Linked DNA regions of Homo sapiens: region 2 is linked to region 1. The links are contacts of gene promoters, found by promoter capture Hi-C in human tissues and cell types (Jung and others, 2019). All regions are on one chromosome and are shown on one strand. The core of a region is centred on a gene start or on the middle of the fragment in contact, and the rest is flanking DNA. Distances in the headings are between cores, read along the strand shown. Region 1 holds the start of OR4B1 (olfactory receptor family 4 subfamily B member 1). Region 2 has its middle 230 kb from the start of OR4A47.

Evidence for each region. The method cuts DNA at HindIII sites, captures the fragments that hold promoters and counts their contacts. A contact is called where the count stands out against the background at its distance.
Region 2: a contact is called between a fragment that was not itself captured here and the fragment with the promoter of OR4B1 in region 1, in 4 of the 25 tissues and cell types used here (H1 embryonic stem cells, aorta, bladder and 1 more).

The regions. Positions count from the first base shown.
Region 1 is chr11:48,213,353-48,221,174 of GRCh38, forward strand. It overlaps OR4B1 (olfactory receptor family 4 subfamily B member 1), which reads left to right and starts at 3,458. Exons shown (of 1, transcript NM_001005470.1): 1 at 3,458-4,387. The coding sequence starts at 3,458. The coding sequence ends at 4,387. The HindIII fragment of the contact is 4,187 bases long and covers 1,173-5,359 here.
Region 2 is chr11:48,712,126-48,719,947 of GRCh38, forward strand. No RefSeq gene overlaps it. Among named protein-coding and RNA genes, the nearest start is that of OR4A47, 230 kb to the left of the region's middle. The HindIII fragment of the contact is 3,171 bases long and covers 3,050-6,220 here.

The sequences.
Region 1 (7,822 bases), core at 2,208-4,707:
AAAACAACAACAAAAGCAGGCAAGAGGTGTTTCCTGGCAGTGCAGCGATGGGTGGTGTTTGACCTGAGTATTAAAACAAGAAGAAAAGTTAGAGAGTCAAGGCATGTGCACCAACCAAGCAGAGGGATTAGTTTATGCAAAGAGACAGTTTTTTAGAATGATATATCATTCAGAATGGCTGGAGTACAAGCTCCAGTTGAGAGTGATGGCAACTGAATATAGAAAGATGAACAAGCTCCAGTTCTGGAGAGTCTTAATGTCATGCTGATGGTATTGGATTTAATCTCGTAGTCAGTGGAAAACCGTTGCTAGATTTCAAGTCAATGCATGACTTGATCAGATTTGCATTTTAGAAGTATAACAATCATAATAACTTACATTCTTTGAGGGCTTGCTATGAAATGAATACTGTGTGCCTTCTTGCATTTAGCAGAAGGATGACTTAAACTGATTTCCAGAGTTGAGAGCAGAGATAAATAGTAACCAGAGAAAGCTTCCTAGACAGCGGACCTTGTAGACTAGCTGGCACTTGGAGAGGGAAGCAAAAAGGGGTGATACATCAGGTAATGTGAAAAGTAGGAAAGATTCACCTGTGTTGGGGATCAACTTGTATTTATGAGAAGGTGAGGAGACCTCTGAATAGAACTGAGATTGTGTGCGGTTTAGTGCCCCGTAAAGTGGGTTCGAAGGGGCCTGTGGAGGTCCTGTAGAGGTTTCTAAAAGTCAGATGGAAGAATTTAGGATGGATTACCAGCCAACAGGGAGACAATGGCAATTTCTGAATGACTTGGAACTGAGGGAAGAGGAAGAATTTCTAACGTGAGTATGTAGAATAGACTGGGGATGAAGACTGGGGATGTCTGGGGACAGATGAAGTATGTAGGTGTCTGCAGTCATCCTCATGTGAGTTTATGTCCTACTTGAAGATGGCAGCTGCAGGAAGACAGAGGAGGAAACTGGTGAAATCAACAGGACATAAAGATTGTGTAAATATGACAGGTGGAGGAGGCATGAATTAGATGTGACTCCATGGTTTCAATCCTGAGGGACAGGGAAAATGATGGTGCTGCTATAAGGCCCAGTGTGAGAGGGGTTTCTTCAGCTCACCTGCGCTGGAAGAGAATGACAGATTCCATAGCTTGGTCTCACCAGCTGCAGTTCTGCCTCCCACCAAAATCCTTGCCTTTGGGTAAAGTAGGAGAGGGGAATCCCTGAGTCTCACACTCTGCGCAGGATCCTACATGGTTTCTTGGTCTTGCATGATCCAGAAATGGTGGAAATGGAACATTCCCAATAATGTAGAGTTTCTAATGATGCTCCTGCTATTCACAGGGTGGGATTAGTAAATGAATTTGGCCAAGTTTTGTATTGACCATAGGTCTTGATGCTATTTCTCCAAGGCCCTGGGGTGGCTAACCCCTTTCTCCTCCAGCTGAGGTGTGGTGGCTCTCCACTACCCTTATTTACATAGGCTCGGTTTCAGCTATGGCTCAAACACTCGCAAGCTATGTTTCTTTGGACAAGTTACTAAACTTCTGTAAGCCTCATTTCTCTCATCTAATAATTAGCTACCTCAAAGAGGTACAGGAAGAATTAAATGAGGGGATGACTGTAAGATGCTTATCACAGTCTAGCACACAGTAGACCCGGAATACACAGCAGCAGCATCTGCAGTTGTTGTGGTTGTTAGGAAGACAATGACAATGAAGATGGTAAACATCTGGTAACCACCATGTTCACCATCTTCATCATCATCCTAACAACCACATGATGGCAAACATGAGCTAACAAGATGCTCTAGTTCCTCCAGGCCACCAGACCCCTTGGCAGCCTTCTTGTGTTGTTTTTGAAGCTTCCCTTATTTCTATTCCTCTACACCGGTAAGAGAGTCCCATCTTGCTTTCTCTTTCCCTTTCAGTTGTTTTCTTGGGTACCTCTTTTTTTTTTCTTCACCAATTAATACTCCACTTCATCTCCAGTTTTAGCCAAGCTCCTTACTGAGCATCTTTCAGCAGATTTTTACCTTGTGTTTCTCTTCAAATTTTCACTATGAGAGAAATTGGGGAGGAAAAAGTATTGAATATTTTCAAATGGAAGCACAAGTGGAAGAAGGAAAAGTAAGGTGAATAAGAGATACTTCAAAATAATTTTATTTTATTTAATATTTTTTGAGACGGAGTTTTGCTCTTGTCACCCAGGCTGGAGTGCAATGGTGAGATCTTGGCTCACTGCAACCTCCACCTCCCGGGTTCAAGTGATTATCCTGTCTCAGCCTCCTGAGTAGGTGGGATTACAGGTGCCCACCAGCATGCCCGGTTAATTTTTGTATTTTTAGTAGAGATGGGGTTTCACCATGTTGGCCAGGCCGATCTTGAACTCCTGACCTCAGTTGATCCACCCACCTCGGCCTCCTAAAGTGCTGGGATTACAGGCCTGAGCCACTGCTCCCGGCCCGAGATACTTCAACATAGTTTTGAAAGCAGAGAAAATCTTGAAGTTTTTCTCTCCTTCTTTTCATAAATGTGTTGTTTAATCATTTGAAGTTACAAGCCTCTTCAGGCTAGAACCATGTTCCATTCTCCTTTCCTATGTCCTGAGTTGCCTAGGCCTGTGGTAGGTACTTAATAAAATCTTTGGTTTAAAGAGTTATTTTAAAAGAAATCCTGCACCTTCTGCTGACAAAAATGTTTGCTAATGGCAAGCAAACTGGAAGACAGAAACAAGCAAAGTGGTGTTGTCCATATGTTATATTCAAACTATTGTTTGATAGGGAGCTATTCTCCAAACAACTTCTGGATGTTCACTTAGCTCTCAGCTGCCAACATTTTCTCAAAATGGTTGTAAAATTCATGAAGCTATAGGACTGGGCAAAAACCATAGGGTCTGAAAGAATTCAGAAACTTACATAGTTCATGTAATGAAAACATCAAAGATATTCCCTAAAATGGAGATGTTTCACTTAGATTGGCATTTCTGGGGAGTAAATAAATGGAGGAAACAAAAGAGTCAGGAGCAGAAGGTCACTATACAATCTCTAACACAAAGACATGACCAGAGAAAATGGAGAATAGGAGAAATGTTAGTAATTAATATAAATGGTTTTCATGCTGAAAGCGGTAATTTTTTTTACTTAAAGTAATGTATGAGTTGGAATAATATGACCTGGGAGGCTTGGCTAATTCACAAATTCTCTGAGCCTCAGTTTTCTTACTTGTTATATGGGGATCATAGAGTTTTTGTGGGGCTGCTTGACCAGTGTCTTGCATAGGGTAGGCTATTGAGCACCAAATGAATAAACATTGACTATATAAATAAATAAACAAATGAGTCAGAAAATATGCATAAAAGGGTTTTATTAACAAGCAAGTGCTAAATAAACATGAAGGATTAGCGTTATGATTGCATGTGCTTTGTCACAGGGCTCTTCTCTGAGATCTGTCTTCTCTGAGTGGAATCCATGGCCAGTACAAGTAATGTGACTGAGTTGATTTTCACTGGCCTTTTCCAGGATCCAGCTGTGCAGAGTGTATGCTTTGTGGTGTTTCTCCCCGTGTACCTTGCCACGGTGGTGGGCAATGGCCTCATCGTTCTGACGGTCAGTATCAGCAAGAGTCTGGATTCTCCCATGTACTTCTTCCTTAGCTGCCTGTCCTTGGTGGAGATCAGTTATTCCTCCACTATCGCCCCTAAATTCATCATAGACTTACTTGCCAAGATTAAAACCATCTCTCTGGAAGGCTGTCTGACTCAGATATTCTTCTTCCACTTCTTTGGGGTTGCTGAGATCCTTTTGATTGTGGTGATGGCCTATGATTGCTACGTGGCCATTTGCAAGCCTCTTCATTATATGAACATTATCAGTCGTCAACTGTGTCACCTTCTGGTGGCTGGTTCCTGGCTGGGGGGCTTTTGTCACTCCATAATTCAGATTCTCGTTATCATCCAATTGCCCTTCTGTGGTCCCAATGTGATTGACCACTATTTCTGTGACCTCCAGCCTTTATTCAAGCTTGCCTGCACTGACACCTTCATGGAGGGGGTTATTGTGTTGGCCAACAGTGGATTATTCTCTGTCTTCTCCTTCCTCATCTTGGTGTCCTCTTATATTGTCATTCTGGTCAACTTGAGGAACCATTCTGCAGAGGGGAGGCACAAAGCCCTCTCCACCTGTGCTTCTCACATCACAGTGGTCATCTTGTTTTTTGGACCTGCTATCTTCCTCTACATGCGACCTTCTTCCACTTTCACTGAAGATAAACTTGTGGCTGTATTCTACACGGTCATCACCCCCATGCTGAACCCCATCATTTACACACTCAGGAATGCAGAGGTGAAAATCGCCATAAGAAGATTGTGGAGCAAAAAGGAGAATCCAGGGAGGGAGTGAAAAAAGAGCTTAGGGATGAAAAAGTGATACAAAATGTATGTCTGATTACTCTCTGTTCTTGAAATGGATTTTGATTTTAGTGGGATATTCAAGAATGACAGAAACAAATATAAAGGCTTAATGATACTGCTGCTGTGATTCTGCTTAGTAGCCAAAGACACTTGGTATGCTGGTGTAATGTTTGAAGGACAGAGGTCAGATAGTCTCGCAGAGTCTTAGAGAACTTGATTGGCTTCATGATATCCAACAATATCATGGGCTTGGGTAATATGAAGCCTCAAACCAAGTGCAAATGCAAAGGAGAACATGTTGATAAATGTTTTTTAGATTAAGTCACTTCTTCCTGTTACCTCCTCCCTTCCTCACTTCTTTTCTTTCTCCCTTTTGCTCTTCCTCCTTCCTCCCTCCCTTCCTTCTTTTCTTCCTTCATTCTTTCTCCCCTCTTTGTTCAAACTCCCTCATGATAACAAACTCTATTTCATTAAAAAAGGAAACCAACCAGAGGAATTATCAGGGAATATTTAGGAAGGAGGGCACCAATCTGATCTACAATGTTGACAAGTATGTCTTTGAAAATTACATCCAGGGACTTTTCTTTTCTTCTGGTTGGCTCCTGGTATCTTGTACCATGGACCATCTGACCATAAGCCCCAGAAAAGTCCCTGGAGCATTTTTAGTTCTTGTGATATGTTTTCACAAGAGATGGTCCTTAAATCTGTCTGGTCTTTCTCACAATGTCCAACATTTGTAAAAAAATAATATCAAAATGACATAGATTCTACTTATCACTATGGAAAGATCAAGTCAAATATTTTCACAAATACAGTGTTTCACAAAAACATTGTTAGTCTTATCCAGATGTGAAAAATACAAAATGTTAGAAAATGCTTATTAGGCCTAACTTAAAGAATGAAGGGGAGAGTGATACTGTCCAAGCATACTTCTACTCCAGACCCTGTCCCTTGTTCTAAGTGACCATGCAAGGCCATTTCTTTTAATGCCTATTAGTATTTCTTGGTGAAGGGAGATGAGATCGTCTGTGTCTGCACTTTTGGTTAACTTCTCAGCATCTCTGCCTTACCCCATTGTTTCATATAATTGTACATAATTTATAGAATATCATAAAGTTGTTCCCTGTTGGCTTTAAAATTGCACATATTGGCATTGAATTTGCACAACATCCTCTGCTTTTTCTTGAGAATCAGGTGAAATAATTCATGCAGCTTCCCTAGCAGAGGGATGGAGTATCATGGGTGTGCTATATATCTTAGGGCTTTTTCCTTTCTATTATAGGTGCTGGTTGAACACGTAGGTAAATAGTGGTTTTAAAGGCACCAGCAAACTTCTCACTTCCCTTAGTGTTCCCATTAACCCTGTCCATAGACGACCATCATTAATCCCTGAGAAAATGTTGCTGCTTCTGCTTGGAATGACTTTACTTCCCTTTTCTGTATGGCAAAATCCTATACATTCTTCAAGACCTAGGTTCAAGTCATCTTCCTTATAAGACCTTCTCTGACTTCCCTCCTCTTTGGGTTGAATTTATGTCTCCTTTCTGCAGTCATTTTTACATATTATTGCCCTATCACTTCAATTCTGATTATTTGATGTGTTTGTCTCTCAATAGACTGTAAGCTCTCAAGGGCAGGACTGTCCACTGTCCCTTCTTCTTTGCAGCTCTAAATATCATGCACATAGTTGATACTTCTTAAGTGCATGTGGAATAACCAACCCTTTAGGCTCATGCACAATCCTTGCTATATTAATTCTTATAGGTTCCTTTTGAACACTTTCATGGTGAGGAGCACATCTTCCTGTTGAAATTTTAAGAGCTCAGGCTCTGACATTTGTTAGGCTGTTCCAATTGCCTGTGAGCCACAACCCAGGATCCAAAGTACTTAACTTCCCTGAACAACTGTTTATGCATGAGTATAATGACTAACAATACTATGAAGTTTATAAGATTATTCTGGCTGGGTGTGGTGGCTCACGCCTGTAATCACAGTGCTTTGGGAGGCTGAGGCAGGTGGATCACTTGAGGTCAGGAGTTTGAGACCAGCCTGGACAACATGGAGAAACGCTGTCTGTACTAAAAATTAGCCAGGTATGGTGGCACGTACGTGTAATCCCAGCTACTCGGGAGGCTACGGCAAGAGAATCACTTGAACCTGGGAAGCGGAGGTTGCAGTGAGCCAACATAGCACCACTGCACTCCAGCTTGGGTAACAGAGTGAGACTTAGCCTCAAAAAAAAAAAAAAAAAAGAAAGAAAGAAAAAAAAGGGATTATTCTGAATATTAAATCAGATAATATACCTGCAAAGCTTTTAGAACAGAACATGGTCATCAATAAATATTAGCCATCATCATCTTCATCATTAGAACTGATTATTAATTTTATTTTGTGTGATGACTGCATCTCACAATGATCATTCTGTCCTGTAGAGCTACTCAGAATAGGCCTTGATTCCACCCCAAAAGTGTTCAAGCATTCTAAGGCAGTTCAATAGACCTTCTCTGTCGCATGCCACGTTGCTTCTCTGAACGTAAACATTCTCTGTTAGGCCATCTACCTGGTGCATCATAGGTACTCACTTAGTATTTGTTAAATAGATGTTGACTGTAAAATAGCTTCCCTATAATCTTTTATGCTAATGCTTTTATATCTTGTTAATGTATATTTTAAAGCATTTGCTCCAGAATGAAACACAGTGAAGGCACCCTTCCTTTCTCTTGATATCTTGCTTGTATTAAAGCAGGCTAGGACTTTAGGTTGCAGGTTGTGGTAGGAGTCCCTTACTCATGGGCAGGTTTGGTTTCCTCTCTGAGAACTATGGATAGAACACCATCAGTGAACTCTGAGTGGTTGGATACTGCACAGGCAGATAATATCTATTCTAATTGAATGGTCAAAATTCTTAAGGATCATGTCACCTACTCTCAACCCTCAAGAGAGTTGAGACTTAGGTCTGTTGAGAGCTGATTACTCACTTTGTTCTGGCCTTGCTGCAAGAAGCACATAAGTTAAAGGAAAACATTTTTTCATTGTTTTAAGAGACAGAGAATGTCATAAAATTTTAAAAATGTCTTCTCAATGAACAGAAGTAGTAATAATCTAATTATACCACTTAGCACTAGAGAGCATGTAGTTAGCTCTTGGTTGTTGATTTTATCACAACATTAAAAATGTATTTTTAAGAGAATCAATATAACATGCTTTCTTTAAAGAAAAACTAGTAGAGTGCTGTAAACTACTCAGATACATAATTTTGTATCCTTTGTCCATTAATTATTTGTATTCATTTAGGTATAGGTTTGACTGCATATAACAGGGAAAAAAGCAACTTTTAATGAGATAGAGTTAAAAAAGTTCAGAGGTTGAAAGTCCAGCTCTGATGGAGATATTCTATATCTGTGCAGTTCAATATGGCAATGCT
Region 2 (7,822 bases), core at 3,385-5,884, 500 kb after region 1:
ATGAATGCACACATCAGAAAGAAGTGTCTCAGAAACCTTCTTTCTAGTTTTTATGTGAAGATGTTTCCTTTTTCATCATAGGCCAAAAAGCACTCCCAAATATCCCTTTGCAGATTCTACAAAAAGACTGTTCCAAACTGCTCAATCAAAAGCGTGGTTCAACTCTGTGAGATGAATACACGCATCACAAAGCAGTTTCACAGACAATTTCTTTCTAGTTTTTATGTGAAGATATATCATTTTTTCACTGTAGGCCTCAAGCGCACACAAATATGCCTTTGCAGATTCTACAAAACGACAGTTTCCAAACTGCTCAATCAAAGCAATGCTTCAACTCTGTGAGATGCATGCACACTTTATGAAGAAGTTTCTCAGAAAGCTTCTGTCCAGTTTTTATATGAAGATATTTCCTATTTCACCATAGGCTTAAAAGTGCTCACAAATATCCCTTTGCAGATACTAGAAGAACAGAGTTTCCAAACTGCTCAATGAACGGAAACTTTTACCTCTGTGAGTTGAATGCACACATTACAAAATAGTTTCTCCAAAAGCTTCTTTCTAGTTTTTATGTGACAATATTTCCTTTTTCACCACTGGCCTCAAAACACTCCCAAATATCCCTTTGCAGATTCTACAAAAAACTGTTTCCAAAATTCTCAATCAAAAGAATGGTTCAACTCTGTGAGATGAATACACACATCACAAAGCAGTTTCACAGACAGCTTCTTTCTAGTTTTTATGTGAAGATATATCAGTTTTTCACCATAGGCCTCAAGCGCACACAAGTATGCCTTTTCAGAGTCTACAAAATGACAGTTCCCAAACTGCTCAATCAAAACAATGCTTCAACTCTGTGAGATGCATGCACACATTATGAAGAAGTTTCTCAGAAAGCTTCTGTCCAGTTTTTATATGAAGATATTTCCTATTTCACCATAGGCCTAAAAGTGCTCAGAAATATCCCTTTGCAGATACTGGAAGAACAGAGTTTCCAAACTGCTCAACGAACAGAAACTTTTACCTCTTTGAGATGAATATACACATTACAAAGCAGTTTCTCAGAAAGCTTCTTTCTAGTTTTTATGTGAAGATATTTCCTTTTTTACCACCGGCCTCAAAGCACTCCCAAATATCCCTTTGCAGATTCTACAAAAATACTGTTTTGAAACTGCTCAATCAAATGAATGGTTCAACTCTGTTAGTTGAATGCACACATCACAGCGAAGTTTCTCAGAAAGCGTCTGTCTTGTTTTTAAATGAAGATATTTCCTTTTTAACCAAAGGTCTCAAATTGCTCACAAATATCCCTTTGCAGATTCTGGAAGAATAGAGTTTCCAAACAGCTCAATGACAAGAAACATTTACCACTGTGAGTTGAATGCACACATCACAAAGAAGTTTCTCAGAAAGCTTCTGTCTAGTTTTTATGTGAACATATTTTGTTTTCACCATATGCCTAAAAGCGCATGAAAATATCCCTTTGCAGATTCTACACAAAGGTAGTTTCCAAACAGCTCAAACAAAAGAAAGCTTCAACTCTGTGTAGTGAGTGCACACCTCACAAAGAAGTTTCTCAGAAACCTTCTGTCTAGTTTGTAAGTGAAGATATTTCCTTTTTCATCGTAGGACTCATTACGATCCCAAATATCCCTTTGCTGATTCTATGAAAAGACGGTTGTCAAACTGCTCAATGAAAACAATGTTTCTACCCTGTGATATGTATGCACACATCACAAATAAGTTTCTCAGGAAGCTTCTGTCTAGTTTTCGTATGAACATATTTCTTTTTTCACCATAGGTCTCAAAATGCTCCGTAATATACTTTAGCCGGTTCTAAAAAGGAGTGGTTCCAGACTGCTCAATGAAAAGAATGGCTCAACTCTGTGAAATGAATGCACACATCACAAAGCAGTTTCTCAGAAAGCTTCTCTTTAGTTTTTGTGAAGATATTTCCTTTTTGACCATAGGCCTCAAAGCACTCAGAAATGTCCCTCTGCAGATTCTACAAAAAGATGGATTCCAAACGGCTTAATCAAAAGAATGGTTCAACTCTGTGAGGAGAATGTACACATCACAAAGTGGTTCCTCACAAAACTTCTTTCTAGTTTTTATGTGAAGATATTTACTTTTTCTCCACTGGCCTTTAACCTCTCCCCAAATTCCTTTTGCTGATTCTACGAAAAGACTGTTTCCAAACTGCTCAATCAAAAGAATGGTTCAACTCTGTGAGATGAATGCACACATCACAAAGAAGTTTCTCAGAAATCTTCTGCCTACTTTTTGTGTGAAGATATTTCCTTTTTCAGCATAGGCATCAAAGCGCTCATAATATCCCTTTGCAGATCCCACAAAAAGACTGTTTCCAAACTGCTCAATCAAAAGAATGGTTCAACTCTGTGAGATGAATGCACACATCACAAAGAAGTTTCTCAGAAATCTTCTGCCTACTTTTTGTGTGAAGATATTTCCTTTTTCAGCATAGGCATCAAAGCGCTCATAATATCCTTTTGCAGATCCCACAAAAAGACTGTTTCCAAACTGCTCAATCAAAAGAATTTTTCACCTCTGTGAGATGAATGCACACATTATATAGAGGTTTCTGAGAAAGCTTTTGTCTAGTTTTTATGTAAAGATATTTACTTCTTCACCAATGACCTCAAAGTGCTCACAATATCCCTTTGCAGATTCTAGAAGAACAGAGTTTCCAAACTGCTCAATGATAAGAAACATTTACCTCTGTGAGACGAATGCAAAACTCACAAAGGAGTTTCCCAGAAATCTTTTTTTATGTGAAGATATTTCCTTTATCACCATCAGCCTAGAAACACTCACAAACGTCCCTTTGCAGAATCTCCAAGAACAGAGTTTCCAAACTACTCAATAAAAAGAAACGCTTACCTCTGTGAGATGAATGCACCCATCACAAAGCAGTTTCTCAGAAAGCTTCTGTCTAGTTTTTATGTGAAGATAGTTCAGTTTTCACCATAGGCCTCATAGAGCCCCCAAATATCCCTTTGCAGATTCTATAAAAATACTTGCCAAAAGTCTCAATAAAAAGAATGGTTCAACTTTATGAGATGAATGCACACATCACAAAGATGTTTTCAGAAAGTTTTGTTTAGATTTTAGCTGAAGATATTTCTTTTTCACCATAAGCTTCAGAGCCCTCACAAATATCCCTTTGCAGATTGTACAAGGACAGAATATCCAAACTGCTCAATGAAAAGAAATGTTTACATCTGTGAGATGAATGCACACATCACAAATCAGATTCTCAGAAAGCTTCTTTCTAGTTTTTATTTGAAGATATTTCCTTTTTCACCATAGGCCTCAAAGCCCTACAAAATATCCCTCTGCAGATTCTAACAAAACACTGTTTCCAAACTGCTCAATCAAAAGAATGGTTGAACTCTATGACATGAATGCACACATCACAAACAAGTTTCTCAGAAAACTTCCATCTAATTTTTATGTGAAGATATTTCCTTTTACACCTTAGGCCTCAAAATGCTCACAAATATACATTTGCAAATTCCACAAAAAGGCATTTTCCAAACTGCTCAATCAAAAAAATTTTTCAGCTCTTTGAGATGAATGCACACATCACAAAGAAGTTTCTCAGAAAGATTGTCTAGATATTTCCTTTTTCAACATAGGCCTCAAAGCACTCACTAATATCCCTTTGAAGATTCTAGAAGAACAGAGTTTCCAAAGTGTTGAATGAGAAGAAACTTTTACCTCTGTGAGATGAATGCACAAATGACAGAGCACTTTCTCAGAAAGCTTCTTTGGAGTCTTTATGGGAAGATATTTCCATTTTCACCATAGGACACAAAGCCCTCACAAGCAAGCCTCCTTTTGCAGTTTCTAAAAAAAAACTGTTTCTAAACTGCTCAATGAAAAGGATGGTTTGACGCTGTGAGATGAATGCAAACATCATAAAGAAGTTTCTCATCAAGCCTCTATCTAGTTTCTATGTGAAGATATTTCCTTTTTCACCATAGACCACTGAGCACTCCCAAATATCCCTTTGTAGATTCTACAAAAAGACTGTATCAAAATTGCTCAATCAAAAGAGTGGTTCAACTCTGTGAGATGAATGTATATATCACAAAGACGTTTCTCAGAAACCTTCTGTCTAGTTTTTATGTGAAGATATTTCCTTTTTCACCATAGGCCTCAAAGGACTCACAAACAAACGTTTGTAGATTCTACAAGAACAGAGTTTCCAAACTACTCAATGAAAAGAAATTTACCACTGTGAGATGAATGCACACATCATAAATCAGTTTCTCAGAAAGGTTATTTCCATTTTTTAAGTGAAGACTTTCCCTTTTCACCATAGGCCTCAAAGCATTCCCAAATACCCCTTTGCAGATTTCACAGAAAGAGTGTTGCAAAACTGCTCAATCAAAAGAAAGGTTCAACTCTGTGAGATGAATGCACACATCACAAAGAAGTTTCTCAGAATGCTTCTGTCTAGTTTTTATGTGAAGATATTTCCTTTTCCACCATAGGCCTCAAAGCATTCCCAAATATCCCTTTGCAGATTTCACAAAACGACTGTTTCCAAACTTCTCAATCAAAAGAAAGTTCTACTCTGTCAGATGAAAGCACACAACACAAAGAAGTTTCTCAGAAAGCTTCTGTCTACTTTTTATGTGAAGATATTTCCTTTTTCACCATAGGCCTTAAAGTGCTCCCAGTTATCACTTTGCAGATTCTACAAAAAGACTGTTTACAATCTGCTCATTCAAAAGAATGGTTCAGCACTGTGAGATGAATGCACATATCACAAAGAAGTTTCTCAGAAAGCTTCTGTCTAGTTTTTATGTGAAGATATTTCCCTTTTCACTGTAAACCTCAAAGCACTCACAAATATCCCTTTGCAGATTCTACAAAAAGACTCTTTCTAAACTGCTAAATCAAGAGAATCATTCAACTCTGTGAAATGAATGCACACATCACAAAGAAGTTTCTCAGAAAGTCTGTCTAGTTTTTATGTGAAGTTATTTCCTTTTTCACCTTTGGTCTCAAAGCACTCACAAATATCCATTTGCAGCTTCTAGAAGGACAGAGTTTCCAAACTGCTCAATGAAAAGTAACGTTTACTTCTATGAGATGAATGGACACATCACAAAACAATTTCTCAGAAAGCTTTTATCTAGTTTTTATGTGAAGATATTTCCGTTTTCACCATAGACCTCAAAGTGCTTCCCAATATCCCTTTACAGGTTTTAGGAGGACAAAGTTTCCAAAGTGCTCATGAAATCATGTGTTTACTTCTGTGCCATGAATGGACACACCACAAAGCAGTTTCTCAGAAAGCTTCCTTCTAGTTTTTATGTGAAGATGTTTCCTTTTTCACCACAAGTTTCAAAGCAATTTTTGTGAGCACTTTTAGGCCTACAGTGATTAAGGATAGATCCTCATAGAAAAACTAGACACAAGGTTTCTGAGAAACTTCTTTGTGATGTGTGTGTTCTTCTCACAGGCTTGAACCGTTCTTTTGATTGAGCAGTTCCTAAACAGTCTTTTTGTAGAGTCTGCTAAGAGATATTGGGGAGTGCTTGGAGGCCTAAGGTGAAAAAGTAAGTATCTTCACATTAAAAGTAGAAAGAAGCTTTCTGAGAAACTGCTTCATGATGTGTCCATTCATCTCACAGAGGTAAACATTAGTTTTCAGTGAGCAGTTTGGAAACTATGTTCCTCTAGGATCTGCAAAGGGATATTTGTGAGCACTTTGAGGTCTATGGTGAAAGAGGAAATATCTTCACATAAAATCTAGACAGAAGCTTTCTGAGAAACTTTGTGATGTGTGCATTCATGTCACAGAGTTGAACAATCACTTTGATTGAGCAATTTGGAAACCATCTTTTGGTAGAATCTGCAAAGGCATATTTGTGAGCACTTTGAGTCCTATGGTGAAAAAGGAAATATCTTCACATAAAAACTAGAAAGAAGGTTGCTGAGATACTGCTTTGCGTGTTTGCATTCATCTCACAGAGATATACTTTTTTTTCATTGAGCAGTTTGGAAAATCTGTTCTTGTAGAATGTGCAAAGGGATATTTCTGAGTGCTTTAATGCCTATGGTGAAAAAGGAAATATCTTCACATAAAAACCAGGCAGAAGCTTTCTGAGAGACTGGTTTGTGATGTGTGCATTCATCTAACAGAGTTAAATGTTTCTTTTCATTAAGCACTTTGGAAACTCTGTTCTTCCAGTATCTGCAAAGAGATATTTGTGAGCGCTTTGATGCCTATGGTGAAAAAGGAAATATCTTCACATAAAAATTACACAGAAGCTTTCTGAGAAAGTTCTTTGTGATGTATGCATTCATCTCACAGTGTTGAAACATTCTTTCAATTGAGCACTTTGGAAGGCGTCTTTTTGTAGAATCTGCAAAGGGATATTTTTGAGTCATTTGAGGCTTATGCTGAAAAAGGAAATATCTCCACATAAAAACTAGCCAGAAGTTTTCTGAGAAACTGCTTTGTAATGTGTGCCTTCATGTCACAGAGTGGAATGATTATTTTGATTGAGCAGTGTGGAAACATTCTTTTTGTAGAATCTGCAAAGGGATATTTGTGATCGCTTTGAGGCCTATGGTGAAAAATGAAATATCTTCACATAAAAACTAGACAGAATGTTTCTGAAAAACTGCTTTCTAATGTGTGCCTTAATTTCACAGATTTGAACCATTATTTTGATTGAGCAGTTTGGAAACAATCTTTTTGTAGTATCTGCAAAGGGATATTTGTAAACGCTTTGAGGCCTATGGAGAAAATGGAAATATCTTCACATAAAAACTAGACAGATTCTTTCTGAGAAACTGCTTTGTGATGTGTGCATTCATCTCACAGATTTGAACCTTTCTTTTGATTGAGCAGTTTGGAAACAGTCTTTTTGTAGAATGTCCTAGGGGATATTTGTGAGCCCTTTGAGGCTTATGGTGAAAAAGGTATTATCTCCACATAAAAACTAGACAGAAGCTTTCTCAAAACTGCTTTGTGGTCTGTGCATTCATCTGACAGTGTTGAACCATTCTTTTGATTGTGCAGTTTGGGAACTCTGTTCTTGTAGAACCTGCAAACAAATATTTGTGAGCACTTGGAGGCCCATGGTGAAAAAGGAAATATCTTCATGTAAAAACTAGGCAGAAGCTGTCTGAGAAACTACTTTGTAATGTGTGCATTCATCACAGAGAGTTGAAACATTCTTTTAATTGAACAGTTTGGAAACACTGTTTTTGTAGAACCTGCAAAGGTATATTTGTAAGCACTTTGAGGCCTATGGTGAAAAATAAAATGTCTTCACATAAAAACTAGAAAGAAGGTTTCTGAGAAACTACTTGGTGATGAGGGCATTCATCTCACAGAGTTGAACCATTCTTCTGATTCAGCAGTTTGAAAACAGTCTTTTTGTAGGATCTGCAAAGGGATATTTTTGGACGCTTAGTGGCCTATGGAGAAAATGGAAGTATCTTCACATCAATCCGAGAAAGAAGCTTTCTGAGAAACTGCTTTTTGATGTGTGCATTCAACTCACAGAGTTGAATTCTTCGTTTGATAGAACAGTTTGGAAACAGTCTTCTTGCAGAACCTGCAAAGGGATATTTGTGAGCACTTTGAGTCGCATGGTGAAAAAGGATTTATCTTCACATAAATACTATACAGAAGATTTCTGAGAAACTTCTTTGTGATGTGTGCATTCAACTCACAGTGATGAACAATGCTTTTGATTGAGCAGTTTGGAAACAGTCTTTTTGTAGAATCTGCAAAAGGATATTTGTGGAACGCTTTGAGGCCTATGGTGAAAAT